4 separate regions of the Homo sapiens genome follow, and all the other regions are linked to region 4. Evidence: promoter capture Hi-C in 16 types of primary human blood cells and fetal thymus (Javierre and others, 2016). All regions are on one chromosome and are shown on one strand. Each heading gives the region's core, a stretch centred on a gene start or on the middle of the fragment in contact. The rest is flanking DNA. Distances are from core to core; before and after follow the strand shown. Region 1 overlaps LOC105374510 (a long non-coding RNA gene). Region 2 overlaps LOC105374510 (a long non-coding RNA gene). Region 3 has its middle 360 kb from the start of LCORL. Region 4 holds the start of DCAF16 (DDB1 and CUL4 associated factor 16).

Region 1 (2,944 bases), core at 180-2,679, 730 kb after region 4:
AGACAAAATGAGGATCATAACAACTTAGTCACATTTTTTAAGATCAGAAAATTATTGAGTTGTGATGCAAAAGCTCTTATCTACTTTTTTTTGGCTCTAAGTTTAGTGTGTTTCCATGTTGCCTCACACAAATATTGATGATTCAGATGACCCAGGTCTGCACAAAAAAGTTTGCATAGCCAAGTGCTTTTTCTCTTAACAACTTTTTCTGGAGCAGAGACATTCAAAATCATTTGATTTATCTTAGTTCTGCCTCAATATAAAATAATATTTGAATGGGAGTGAATTTCCTATTGATGAGTGTTATAGTTTGGATTTATACCCCACCCAATCTCATGTGGAATTGTGATCCCCAGTGTTGGAGGAGGGGCCTGGTGGGAGGTGATTGGATCATGGAGGGCGAACCTCCCCCTTGCTGTTCTCCTGATAATGAGTTCTCATGAGATCTGGTTGTTCAAAAGTGTGTAGCACCTTCCCCGTCTCTCTCTTCCTCCTGCTCCGTCCATGGAGGACAGATCTGCTTCCCCTTCACATTCCATCACGATTGCAAGTTTCCTGAGGCCTCCCCAGCCATGCTTCCTGTGCAGCCTGTGGAACTGTGAACCAGTTAATTATCTTTTCTATATAAATTATGCTGTGTCAGGTAGCTCTTTATAGGAATGCGAGAACGGCCTAATACATTGAGTAAGATAAGTTGGGTGTTTTTCTCACCCAACGATAATTTCAACAGGAAAGTCTGGCCTAAAGTTTATCCCTGCTTCTTCTCCTATGCCAGTTATTTTTATAAAGAACTACAGTTTGCTATCAGGACAAAGAAAGGCTACTTTAATACATTAAGCAATGACTTCGCTCCATTTGGTCTTTGTGTATGAACTCAGGGTGCTTCCCATTTTATGGAAAACTTGACACAACAATTACCACCCAAATAACCTATAATTTTATAAGGTAATCCAATGCATCTACCAAAAATTGTCAAAACAGGAAAAGAATGGTATGTCAAGGGAGCATCCTTTATTAGAAAGTGAGTGTGCTGCAGTGTTCAAAACCATGGCTTCCAATGTCAGATTCTCTGTGTTCCAGTCTCTTCTCTGCTTCTTACTAGAAGAGTGAGCTTAGCAAGTTACTGAAACCGCTCAGTGTCATAGTTTTGTCATCTGAAAATGGATATAAGAATGATACCAACCTCATATGATTGCTGTGAAGATTAAACATGTTAAAATACATAAAACTGATAATCATTCTTAACAAGAAACAAGAATTTAATGAACTGTAGCAAGTACTGTTATTGGTTATACATTTTTGAACAATAGTGGGAACTTCTAATTGTCTGCCTAAAATGTGCTAAGGATTAGAAAACTAGACAATTATGCTTAACATAGATTTCAGTAAAATCTGAGCTAATAGTATCTACATGTAGATTGAATGACTCATACAAGGTAAAAAGTGCTAGTTGTTCTGTTTACTAGAATTCTGAAATTCACTTTTGGAGTCACAATTATGTTTAACTACTAGATTAGGAGAGGACTTCTTTGCTTTTATCACTCTGTTTCTCAAACAATTGGCACATTGTTGGTGCTCAGTAAATTCTTCTGTAATGAATGAGTAAATAAATGAACAAATTAACAGGATTTCCAGAAGTTTGACTTGTGATTAGGTTACCATATAACTACCAAACCTATTAAGTTGGCCATCTTGATTTTACTACTGAATGCATTAGCTTGACATGTAGATACACTCTTCTGAAATATAGCTTTTGAAGTTTAGAAAGATGTAGCTGCATTATAAATTTTTTCAGTGCTAATTGTTAGTTTTTCGATTACTGCAATCCCAGTATTTTCACATTACCTATGCTCTTCTACTTATATGAAACATAGCAGAAAGAGACCATAATCTAATACATTTAAATTTGCCACAATGGAAAAGGAAATACATGGCTGTTAAGTAGAAGCTAAATGTTAAAAACTGTATTTAAATATGATCTTTGCAAAGGTTAATGACTTTTCTGAAGACAGAGACTTTGTATTTTATGTTTTATCTTTGTCTTGAAGATTTTGGTGCAGACCAACCATTAATAATTCAAAAGTAGTTTCATAAAAAATAGTATGTGGGGGTCATTTTGTGCTGTGACCCTCTGTCTGGTTTACTGACTTAAGGAAAGATGAATGACCTGAAAGAAGAGTTTATTCCCTTCCTGAGGGCTCGGAAAGACTTGGGAACTACTTTCATAACCTAGAGATTTTGAAACTTCCATTATAATATGGATAAAAAAGAAGTGAACCACAATATTAGTTTTAATGGCATGTTGAAATGTATAATTCTGTTTGTTTTGTCATATTCTGTGAACATGAGATACTCCCTGGCCTTCAAATTTTATTTGCTTATTGGCTGTTTGGAGCTTGATACTTTGCTACATGAACAATGTTAGCAACTGAGATAGAGAAACAACTACCTCCCTCCCCTCCGCTCCCCTGCTACACTGCAATCATCATTTCTATAGAAAATGTCATTCCAAATTCTAGCTTTTATTTCTGCCTAATTCTATGATTATTAGGAAGTAGATGCTCCTTAAATTTTGCATGACAAAGTGATTTCAATAACATTTCTCTGGAGCAGCCCCAGAATTGGAGCTGTCATCTGCATCTGACCCTTTCCTTAGGGCCTCAATGCCCAAGGAATGGGAAAGATTTTGTCCTAAGGGTCTGTGGGTTGAATGTGGGAATAAAATATTAATACTCCAGATAACAGAAGTTACTTTTTATGGCATACTCATTATGTGCCAGGTACTGTGCAAAGCACCTTACATGCATTATTTCATTTGATTCTAGGAATGCTCACTTTAAGAATGAGGAGACTAAGGCTGAGAATAAGCAACTTGTCTAAGATCATAGAGCTACAAGTGTCTAAACCAGAATATTGTGGCTCCTGTTTATATCTCTCTCTCTTC
Region 2 (3,218 bases), core at 639-3,138, 800 kb after region 4:
CGTTTAACACAGTTTAACACAGTGTTGAGATATTCAACACTTTATTATAAAATAGGTTTTGTGTTAGATGATTTTGCCCAAATGTATGTGTTCCAAGCATGGTTAAGATAGACTGGGCAAAACTATACTGTTCAATAGGTTAAGTATATTAAATGCATTTTCAACTTATGATATTTTCAACTTATGATGGGTTTATTGAGACATAAAGCTAGCATAGGTGAAGAAGCATGTGTATTACATACAGAAAATAAACAGAGAAAGATGAAGGCATGCAAGAAGCAGTGGACCTACACTAGCAGAGAAGTGGTGGATTCTCTACAGTGGGCCTGGAGAGCAAATGGTGTGCATTGAAGAATAACAATAGAGAGGGAATTTTCTAGGGGAAAAAATAAAAAATAGTAGAATAAGCCTAGATAGTGAGATTAAAAGATTGATGAAAAAAAGTGAGGCAAATAACATTTAATTAATAGTATCAAGGCAAATAATACAAGAATAAAAGAAAGGTAACTAGAATTTTAAAAAATAAATTTAAAAGAGAAAGTAAAATAACACACGTGCTGATTTTCAGCAGTCGACCGAATATAGGAAAGCAGGCTGCATTGACTGCAATGCTAGCAGTAGTCGCAGAGTGAGAAGCAGTAGCAGCGGTGAAGGGATTTTCATATCCACAGAGTATTCTTGCTTCTCTTCCTTCCCACTTCCCTCCTTCTCTGCATATTGACTTTTCCTAATTTGTCTCAAATGTTTGTCCAAGTCATGTATACATGAAGTGACACATCAAATAATATGGAAGAATCTCCCTCAGTAATAGCTCCAGGAATCCAATATAGAACCTATAGAAAAGCAAACATGACCTTAACAAGCCATAATTATCAAACACTGTTTATCGCTTTGCACCTTTTACAGTTATTTACTTATTTATTTTATATTATTATCTTTTTTTTTTTTTTTTTTTTGAGACAGAACTTCACTCTTGTTGCCCAGGTTGGAGTGCCATGGCCCGATCTTGGCTCACTGCAACCTCCGCCTCTTGGGTTCAAAGAATTCTCCTGCCTCAGCCTACCGAGTAGCTGAAATTAGAGGTTCCCATGACCGCGCCTGGCTAATTTTTGTATTTTTAGTAGAGACGGGGTTTCACCATGTTGGTCAGGCTGGTCTCGAACTCCTGATCTCAGGCGATCCACCCGCCTCGGCCTCCCAAAGTGCTGGGATTACAGCGTGAGCCACCACACTCAACCCCTTTTAGGGTTATTTTACAAACAACACTTAGAATTCACGAATGCAGTGGCAGAACAAAATGTAGCCGTGTTAAGTGAATGTGCATCTAAAAAAATAACGGAAGAATGGAAGCAGAGGAGCTGATGAGTCTTTTCTTTTAAATAAAGGAAGTGCTGCTAAAAATCTTCATTTCATATTGTGGAAAACCAAGAGATACAGTCGAAAGTGAGTGGAACAGAAATGGAGGCATAGGTCTATTACTTAGTATTACAAAGGGGGCCATTTGAAGAACGGGAAAAGTATATGAATGTTAACCTTGAGAAGGAAGAGAAGGGAGAAAGCAGAAGTTTAAAAGAGCTAAGTCATCATATTGTGGAGTCATTATTTGTGGTCTAAAAATGATAAATCAAGAAATAGAGTTATGAACATGTCACTTAATGTCAGGAGGAAAATTATCAGAAGAGCCAAAAACAATGCTAAGAATGAATGCCACTGTGTAACCAGACTTGGTAGTGTTTACTGGGGTGTGCAAAAGAGTTTTGCTTCCTTATTAAAATTGGTTTATGTTGTTTTGTTACTGTTGATTTGTTAAGTGCATATATGGCTTAAAAACAGTCTTAAAAATAAATTACAAAAATATGTGAGGATTTTAGAAGGAAGGCAGGGAGGAAGAAAATGAGGGAGGAAGGGATGGATGGAGGAGGGAGGAAGGAAAGAAGCAAGGAGGGAAGGAAGGAAGGGAGGGAGGGAGGAAGGAAGGAGAAAGGGAGGAAGGAAGGAAGGAAGGTGAAAGGGAGGGAGGAAGGAAGGAAAGGAAGGCAGGAAGGAAGGGAAGGAGGGAGGAAGGAAGGGGGGAGAAAGGAAGGAAGGGAGGGAGGAAGGAAGGAGGGGGGAGGAAGGAAGGAAGGGAGGGAGGAAGGAAGGAGGGGGGAGGAAGGAAGGAGGGGGGAGGAAGGAAGGAGGGGGGAGGAAGGAAGGAAGGAGAAAGGCAGGGAGGGAGGAAGGAAGGTGAAAGGGAGTGAGGAAGGAAGGAAAGGAAGGCAGGAAGGAAGGGAAGGAGGGAGGAAGGAAGGGGGGAGAAAGGAAGGAAGGGAGGGAGGAAGGAAGGAGGGGGGAGGAAGGAAGGAAGGGAGGGAGGAAGGAAGGAGGGGGGAGGAAGGAAGGAGGGGGGAGGAAGGAAGGAGGGGGGAGGAAGGAAGGGAGGGAGGGAGGAAGGAAGGAGAAAGGGAGGAAGGAAGGAAGGAAGGTGAAAGGGAGGGAGGAAGGAAGGAAAGGAAGGCAGGAAGGAAGGGAAGGAGGGAGGAAGGAAGGGGGGAGAAAGGAAGGAAGGGAGGGAGGAAGGAAGGAGGGGGGAGGAAGGAAGGAAGGGAGGGAGGAAGGAAGGAGGGGGGAGGAAGGAAGGAGGGGGGAGGAAGGAAGGAGGGGGGAGGAAGGAAGGGAGGGAGGGAGGAAGGAAGGAGAAAGGGAGGAAGGAAGGAAGGAAGGTGAAAGGGAGGGAGGAAGGAAGGAAAGGAAGGCAGGAAGGAAGGGAAGGAGGGAGGAAGGAAGGGGGGAGAAAGGAAGGAAGGGAGGGAGGAAGGAAGGAGGGGGGAGGAAGGAAGGAAGGGAGGGAGGAAGGAAGGAGGGGGGAGGAAGGAAGGAAGGAGAAAGGCAGGGAGGGAGGAAGGAAGGAAAGAAGGAAGGAAGGGAGGGAGGGAGGAAGGAGGGGGGAGGAAGGAAGGAAGGGAGGGAGGAAGGAAGGAGGGGGGAGGAAGGAAGGAGGGGGGAGGAAGGAAGGAAGGAGAAAGGCAGGGAGGGAGGAAGGAAAGGAGGAAGGAGAAAGGCAGAGAGGGAGGAAGGAAGGAAAGAAGGAAGGGAGGGAGGGAGGAAGGAAGAAAGGGAGGGAGGGAGGGAGGAAGGAAGAAAGGGAGGAAGGACGTCTGTGGAACACTACCATTGCTATCATCACCTCCATGACCACTCTTACCACCCCTGCTGCTGTTTCTACTTCTGCTCTGCTA
Region 3 (3,223 bases), core at 370-2,869, 570 kb after region 4:
ACAAAAGGGGTTCTGTGTGTCTGGATTTCAGTTAGGTAGAGTGGGGACCAATGAAGGGGTACAGCTAGGATAAATGTGGGACTAGAGAGTAAGGTGGGGGCTGGGTCACAAAAATTATAAGCCCCCTTTATAATGAGGCAGCCTTGGTCTCACCTCCCTCATTCCAGCTGAGGTAAAAGGACTTGCCTTCCTCCTTCTCTAACTTACTTAGACACCTTCAATTTTCTGTCACGTGCATAATACCCTGTTAGGTACCTGGGGGTAGGATACTGATCTAGTGATCTAATTCTTTTCTCCAAAACACTGATGAGATTGTGCTAAATGTGTGCTAAGCTTATGACAGAGACAGAATTATTTTAAAAACTCTTTGGAAAATGAAATTCTGGTTCACTTGACCCAAGGGATTGGGTCACTTGAATTCCGTGTGTATATACGCTCAGTAAAACACGTCAATATACTTGGTTCAAAAACAAAACTGAATCTTTCTCATGCTGGAGCCTGAAGAACCAATATTCTACTCAATAATGCACTGATTTTTGATGTAATAGTTCTAAAATTTCTTCTCTGCTTCCACTTCCTTTTCCTTTGTTTTTTTCTGTCTTTCTTCTTCCATTTTTGTCTTTTCATTAAATCCATGTTGTCTAATGAGGTTTGGAATTGAAATATCGATGTTTAACCCAGAATTATCCCCATTGGTTTCTGGAAATAGTCTTTATTTCAGCTGATGTACAAGGAACTGTTGACTTCATGGGTTTGTTCAAAACTGACACTTGCCTTGCCTGCCAACTCCTTGCAACTGCTCAAGCACTGTTAGCATAAAGAATGATTATTTTATATAAAATAATCAGAATATCTTTAACAGTCATAGGTCAATGACAGGAAAAATGGTAATTTTGGGGAATGGGGCTGGGGAAATCCAGCAATGATTTTTATTTTATTTTGTTTTAAAAAAAGTGTTAAAACTGAAAACATATTTTGCCAACCACCTCCTCCCTTGCCTTTTTGAAAGTCCATATGTTCTTTAGGGAAAAATTGAATTCAGCTTCATTTGAGTCTTTGCAAAATTTTAAAAGTGTTATTTGATGTGCAAGATTTCTAGGTCTTCAGAAATCAGACCTAAAGTCAATTGTTTGGATGAAATTCAAACTGCATTTTCTCAACACTTTGAAAAAAATTTGAGTAAGATTCAGAAGTTCAATCTTTTTCTACTGCTAGTTGGCAGCAGATTGACACACTGGGAGAGTGTATTTACACATTGCTTATTTTCTGGTAGATGTTAGGAGGTCATAAATTTTGTTCATAACCATTTTTATTCAGTATTTAATAAACAAGTTTTGCTTTGAACCAGCAGTGGCATGTTGTAGCTTTTGTGATTCCTCTTTCTCACGGGTGGAGTGGGTTCATTTTCTTAGTAGGAAAATACATTGCTCTATGTATGTTAAGCAACTTTGAGAGAAAATAGCCAATTGAAGGTTGTCAAGTAGAAATGAGCCTCGGAAAATCTATTTATACTTGTTTTGAATTCGGCAAGAACCTGATTATCTCAGTGGCTGAGTCCAAATTAGGATCCAGTTGAACAGGATAAGGCAAGTTTGCTGAACAGGAGGATGGGGGATGTTGGAATCTAATCCTTTCCCTTTTCACTATCTTACTGTGTGACCCTCATGAAGGCATTTCTTTTTTCCTCCTTGGGCCAGAGTTCTCTCATTTGAAACAGAAGAAAATAGACCATAGCAGTGTTTTCAAGCTGAGTTCTTCAGAGCCCTGTGGTTCCAAAAATTGCTGTCTCCAGAGTTCCCCGGCTTTTATAGGTTTTATATGTAAAAGGTTTGCACACACACAAAAAAACTTAGATTAAAACGATTTGGTGACTACAAAGAAAGATAGAACAACCTTTAATAAACTGTACTGTTTTAGATTTAAAAAATTTTTTTTAACTTATATAATTACTAATTCTCATCATGGGTTTTAAATGACCTAAAGGAAATAATACCTGGACTTGAGCTTTGGAAATAGAAGTTTGATTTTACTTGTTGACACTGATCTGTTACATCCCAGGGATACTGGCCTTAAGTTGCTCCTCTGCTGTTTAAAACATACTGCTGGGTTTTAAAAGTGGCCTATACAATAAGCATCTTGGTAAAATCAGGTGGCAATATCTCCTACAGCTGAAAATGTGAATAATTTAGGACTAGTAATTCCACACTTAGATAAATGCCCAACAGAAATGCATATATATGTACATCAAAAGATATACACAAGAATGTTTATAGCAGCATTATTTGTAATAACTCTCAATTGGATAATACCTACATTGCCACCAAGAGTAGAATGAATAAATAAATTTGTGTTGCATTCTCACCATGGAAAATTATTCAGCAATGAGGATGTTGGATCTGCAACTACCCACAGCAAAGAGAAAAGAATACATCCTTATGAATTTAGAAAATGCAAAATCAGGAAAAACTAGTCTATATTATTGGAAGTCACGATTATGGATACTGCTGTGGGAGGAGATGAAAAAGTGGGAAAGGTTAATGAATGGGGGCTTCTGGGATGCACATAACGTACTGTTTCTCAACCTGGTGCTGGCAACATGTGTGGTCAGTTTTTGGAAATATATTAAGCTGTACAAATGTGATGTGCACCTTTCTGTATGCAGATTATATTTATTAAAATTTAAAAAATTCCTCTAGATTGTCTACTAAAGTCTGCTTCCCAAAATTAGTTAATTCAAAAGAAAATATTGTTATCAGTCTTGATAGTACTTTATTTTTATATCATGGGCAAAAGGGCATGAGTTAAATATTAAGGTATTAAATTGAAATAATATTGGGCTAAAGGTGTTTACCTAATCATGTAAATGATTACCTGCCACCTTTGGTCACAGTGTTTCAGCCAGTTGTAAGCTTGGAAGGTGCTGGCTGATACTCTTACATCACTTGATATATTTTCCTTTCTTCTTATTGACTGTTTAGAACTCAACTCCTAGAGTTTTCTGTTTCTCCTCATGAAGGATAAACTGCTACAGAAATTTCCCTCATGCCATAACCAGATGTAACTGAGAAAAGTATATGAACTAATAATTGCCAGGCATTGGACAATAGGCAATACAAGACTGTGATGCATAGGAGAAGGGAAATAGAAATGGTAAGCCCTATGATTGTCTCAGTTTACTCTTTAAAAGGAAAAATTGAAACAGGATCAGTGGCCTTACTGAGTT
Region 4 (3,304 bases), core at 410-2,909:
ACATTCTTAACTAGCAGCTGAATATCTACAAAGTTTGAGGAATTAAGCAGGAGAATGGATAAGGTATGGCATATTAATACAATGGAGTACTATAGCAACCTGTCTGTGCCGTAGTTTCCTCATCTTAAAAGAAGATCAAAGTTATCCTACAGGGTTTGTGAGCAGTAAACGAAGTAAAGTGCTTAGCATGGTGTCTGGCACATAATAAAGGTTAATTAAGTGCAAGTTACTATTATGAACATATCAATATGAACCACAGCAATATTGATTGAAAAAAGCCAGATGCACATATAATTATTCATTTAACGGTTAAAACATGCAAAATAGTACAATATCCTCATTCAGGGATTTATTCATGTCATTAATATATTAAAATATGTCATTAAGATATAGAAAGCTGCATGGTAAAAGTTAACAGTAAATTCAGAAAATCCATTACTTCTTCGGAGGGCAGGTAATTCAAAAGGAGAAAGATGTACAGGTGGCTTTAGTAATGTTCTATTTCTTCAGCTGGCAGTAGGTTACTGAGGTGTAGGAGAGGGAAAAACGGCTTCCCTCCATCCTCCTAGGTTCTTTGGCTGGGTTACAAATTAACCTGACATAGACATTAACAAGAAAAAAAACCCGTACTTAATTACATACGCAGAGGAGTCCCACCATGGTCAGATGATTGAATATTATACAGCATCCTACGCTACTCAAGAAATGGGGGCTTGCGGCTTTCTGGGGGATGGTGGCCACAAAGTTGTGGAAAGGTGAGGGGAGGAAATATACGGTGAATAAAAGTTGTCTTGGTATGCAGATAAGATCTCCCAGGTAACAAAAATTATCGCAGAGCTGCCCTCTTTCTGATACAGATCCTTTACTGATGTATATTTCCTCTGTAGATGTCAATTTCTTTTACAACAGGACAGATTTTCAGAGCGACTCCTGTGTCTGCATTTTATCAGAATACCAGCTCAAAATATACTCTAGAAGTATATTGTAGGGTGGCATATTTTGGTCTCCTACAGTCCTATTTTTGGATGGTGCATCCTGAGATCCAACAGAAGTTCTGTCTGATATAATTTCATTTAAAATTTAAAAACCTAGTTCCTACTCTTCTTTATTTTAACCACTACCCGAAAGACCTTTCCATTCTCTTGAGTTCTCCCTTAATACACTGTCCTTATGCACACTTGTAAACAGGGCCTACACAGCTGCACATCTAGAAACGGCAGCAGCTAAGTTAGCCCGCACCCCCCTTCGCAACGATCCCCGGACTGCCTGCACGCCCTGTGGAACCTCGCAGTCGGCTTCACCAGGGCAGGGACTAAGGCCTTCAAAAGACAGCATCCGTCTCCACTAACCTCGGGTCGCCCCGCTCAGCGGACCCAGCAGCGTCGTCTCCCTTCTCAGAGGTGGCCGGGCCTCCGGAACGCGCTACGAACTTTCCTTTGTCGCCGTCTCTCGAAGCGGAGCCCTCGTGTGGGGATCCCCCGCCCTTCGGCCACAAGGGAGGTTGTTATCCTCGGCAGATCTCCCGTTCTCACTCTTGGAGGATCGCTTTTTCTTTCTAGCCTCACGCTCAGCCGCACGACCCAGCCAGGCCTAACGCCAGCAGCCCTTCCCCTCCGGTGGCAAGGCCACTCCGCTCAGCTCCCGCGCCGACGCTACTTCCGGCCGAGTCAAGGCCCCTCCCCCTTAGAAACGCCACTTCCCTCCGTGAAAACGGCTGGACAAGGTTGAACCTAGACGCATGCGCCCAAAGCGCGGGGTGCGAGGTGGGTGGACCCATCGCTTCCCGCTCTCTTCTCCCAAAGCGCTTACGGCAGTCTCGCGGGATTTCCCCCTCTCGCGGGAATTATTTGAACGTTCGAGCGGTAAATACTCCCTGGGGCTGTCATAGAAGACTACTCGGAGAGCGCTGCCTCTGGGTTGGCGGGCTGGCAGGCTGTAGCCGAGCGCGGGCAGGACTCGTCCCGGCAGGGTTCCAGAGCCATGGGAGCGGAAAGGAGGCTGCTGTCGATTAAGGAGGCCTTTCGGCTGGCGCAGCAGCCGCACCAGAACCAGGCGAAGCTGGTGGTGGCGCTGAGCCGCACCTACCGCACGGTAAGCGCTCCCGGCCCCGGCCGCCGCCTCTCGCCCGCCCCGGCCCACCCTCCCTCAGGGGCCCTCCGTGGCCCTCGGGCTCGGCGCACCGTGACTCCAGCCTTGTTCACCTTCGCGACTCACTTCATAGGGATCTGAGGTTCGGAGAAGTCAGGGACTTACCCGAGGTCGCCTGGGCCCAGGCCAGAAAGCCTCCGAAGCCTGGGCGTCGTTCACACGGGCCCCGCCTTGGCTTTTCTGAGCCGACACCCCCAGCTTCTGGGCGGCGTGGACCGTTATTCCTTAGTCCGATCGTGAACGTGGAGAGAAACATTTACGACCACCGAGGCGATCAGACATCAAATATTGAACCGCAGAGTGGATCCTGAATGCGGGGGTTCAGTGGTCGTTGCCCCTGGGGTCATCGCTCCCCGCCGAACATCAAATGATTCTACCCTTGTCCTACGGTTACGTTGAATCCAATCACCAAATACCAAATTATTTTTAGGGCCTGGCCATTCTTATTTATGTACATACTATTTGTTTGTTTTGAGTGGAACCTTGAGAAGAATAGAACAATTAATTTGGGGAAGATGAATTATCTTGAGGTCCAAGAAAAATTGTGAGTAAACATCACAGGGCTTTGAGGATATGAGATAGGATGTGCAAGTTATCTCATAAAGAAACTGCTGGTGATAGGAAGGCCTGAATATGAGAAATATAAAAGCCAGTATTGATTTTGGGTTGTTGAAGAAGCGTATTTGTAACGTACTGGTACTAAAGGCTTATTGAGAATCAAAGATATTGAAAAAAATATATCAAAGGAATCTTTTCACTGTCAAAAGTCAAGCTTGTGTACTCCCATTATAGCCTGGAGAGAAATTCATGCAAATTGATTGCCCTTTGGCTGGTTTGGATAATTAAGAGTTTACTAAATAAATATTTTAATTTGTCTGCATTATTATGGCTAGTGCTTTCATCAGTCTTAGGGTGATGTTGGGAATAAAGGATTTTTATCGGTGCAGTTTATGAAGGGTTTCTTTTGTCTTTCAGATGGATGATAAGACAGTTTTTCATGAGGAGTTCATTCATTACCTTAAATATGTTATGGTGGTCTATAAACGTGAACCAGCTGTGGAGAGGGTAATAGAATTTGCAGCAAAGTTTGTTACCTCATTTCACCAATCAGATATGGAAGATGATGAGGAAGAGGAAGATGGTGGCCTTTTAAATT

The links. Contacts are between HindIII fragments. The CHiCAGO score rates a contact against its expected background, and 5 or more counts as called.
Region 1: a fragment that was not itself captured here is called in contact with the fragment with the promoter of DCAF16 in region 4 in 1 of 17 cell types (endothelial precursors); the score reaches 5.5 in endothelial precursors.
Region 2: a fragment that was not itself captured here is called in contact with the fragment with the promoter of DCAF16 in region 4 in 6 of 17 cell types (naive CD4 T cells, total CD8 T cells, naive B cells and 3 more); the score reaches 7.6 in naive CD4 T cells.
Region 3: a contact is called between a fragment that was not itself captured here and the fragment with the promoter of DCAF16 in region 4, in 1 of 17 cell types (M1 macrophages). The highest score is 6.9, in M1 macrophages.

What each region holds. Positions count from the first base shown.
Region 1 is chr4:18,540,044-18,542,987 of GRCh38, forward strand. All of the region lies in intron 1 of LOC105374510 (a long non-coding RNA gene), which reads left to right. Among named protein-coding and RNA genes, the nearest start is that of LCORL, 520 kb to the left of the region's middle. The HindIII fragment of the contact is 3,244 bases long and covers 1-2,944 here.
Region 2 is chr4:18,609,626-18,612,843 of GRCh38, forward strand. The region is part of intron 1 of LOC105374510 (a long non-coding RNA gene); the gene reads left to right. Among named protein-coding and RNA genes, the nearest start is that of LCORL, 590 kb to the left of the region's middle. The HindIII fragment of the contact is 8,531 bases long and covers 1-3,218 here.
Region 3 is chr4:18,380,610-18,383,832 of GRCh38, forward strand. No RefSeq gene overlaps it. Among named protein-coding and RNA genes, the nearest start is that of LCORL, 360 kb to the left of the region's middle. The HindIII fragment of the contact is 2,576 bases long and covers 332-2,907 here.
Region 4 is chr4:17,809,098-17,812,401 of GRCh38, forward strand. It overlaps DCAF16 (DDB1 and CUL4 associated factor 16), which reads right to left and starts at 1,660. Exons shown (of 3, transcript NM_017741.4): 1 at 1,350-1,660. NCAPG (non-SMC condensin I complex subunit G) reads left to right here and starts at 1,882. Exons shown (of 21, transcript NM_022346.5): 1 at 1,882-2,091; 2 at 3,124-3,304. The coding sequence starts at 1,981. RefSeq lists enhancers at 1,198-1,287, 1,329-1,840, 1,408-1,567, 1,841-2,353. The HindIII fragment of the contact is 3,530 bases long and covers 1-2,918 here.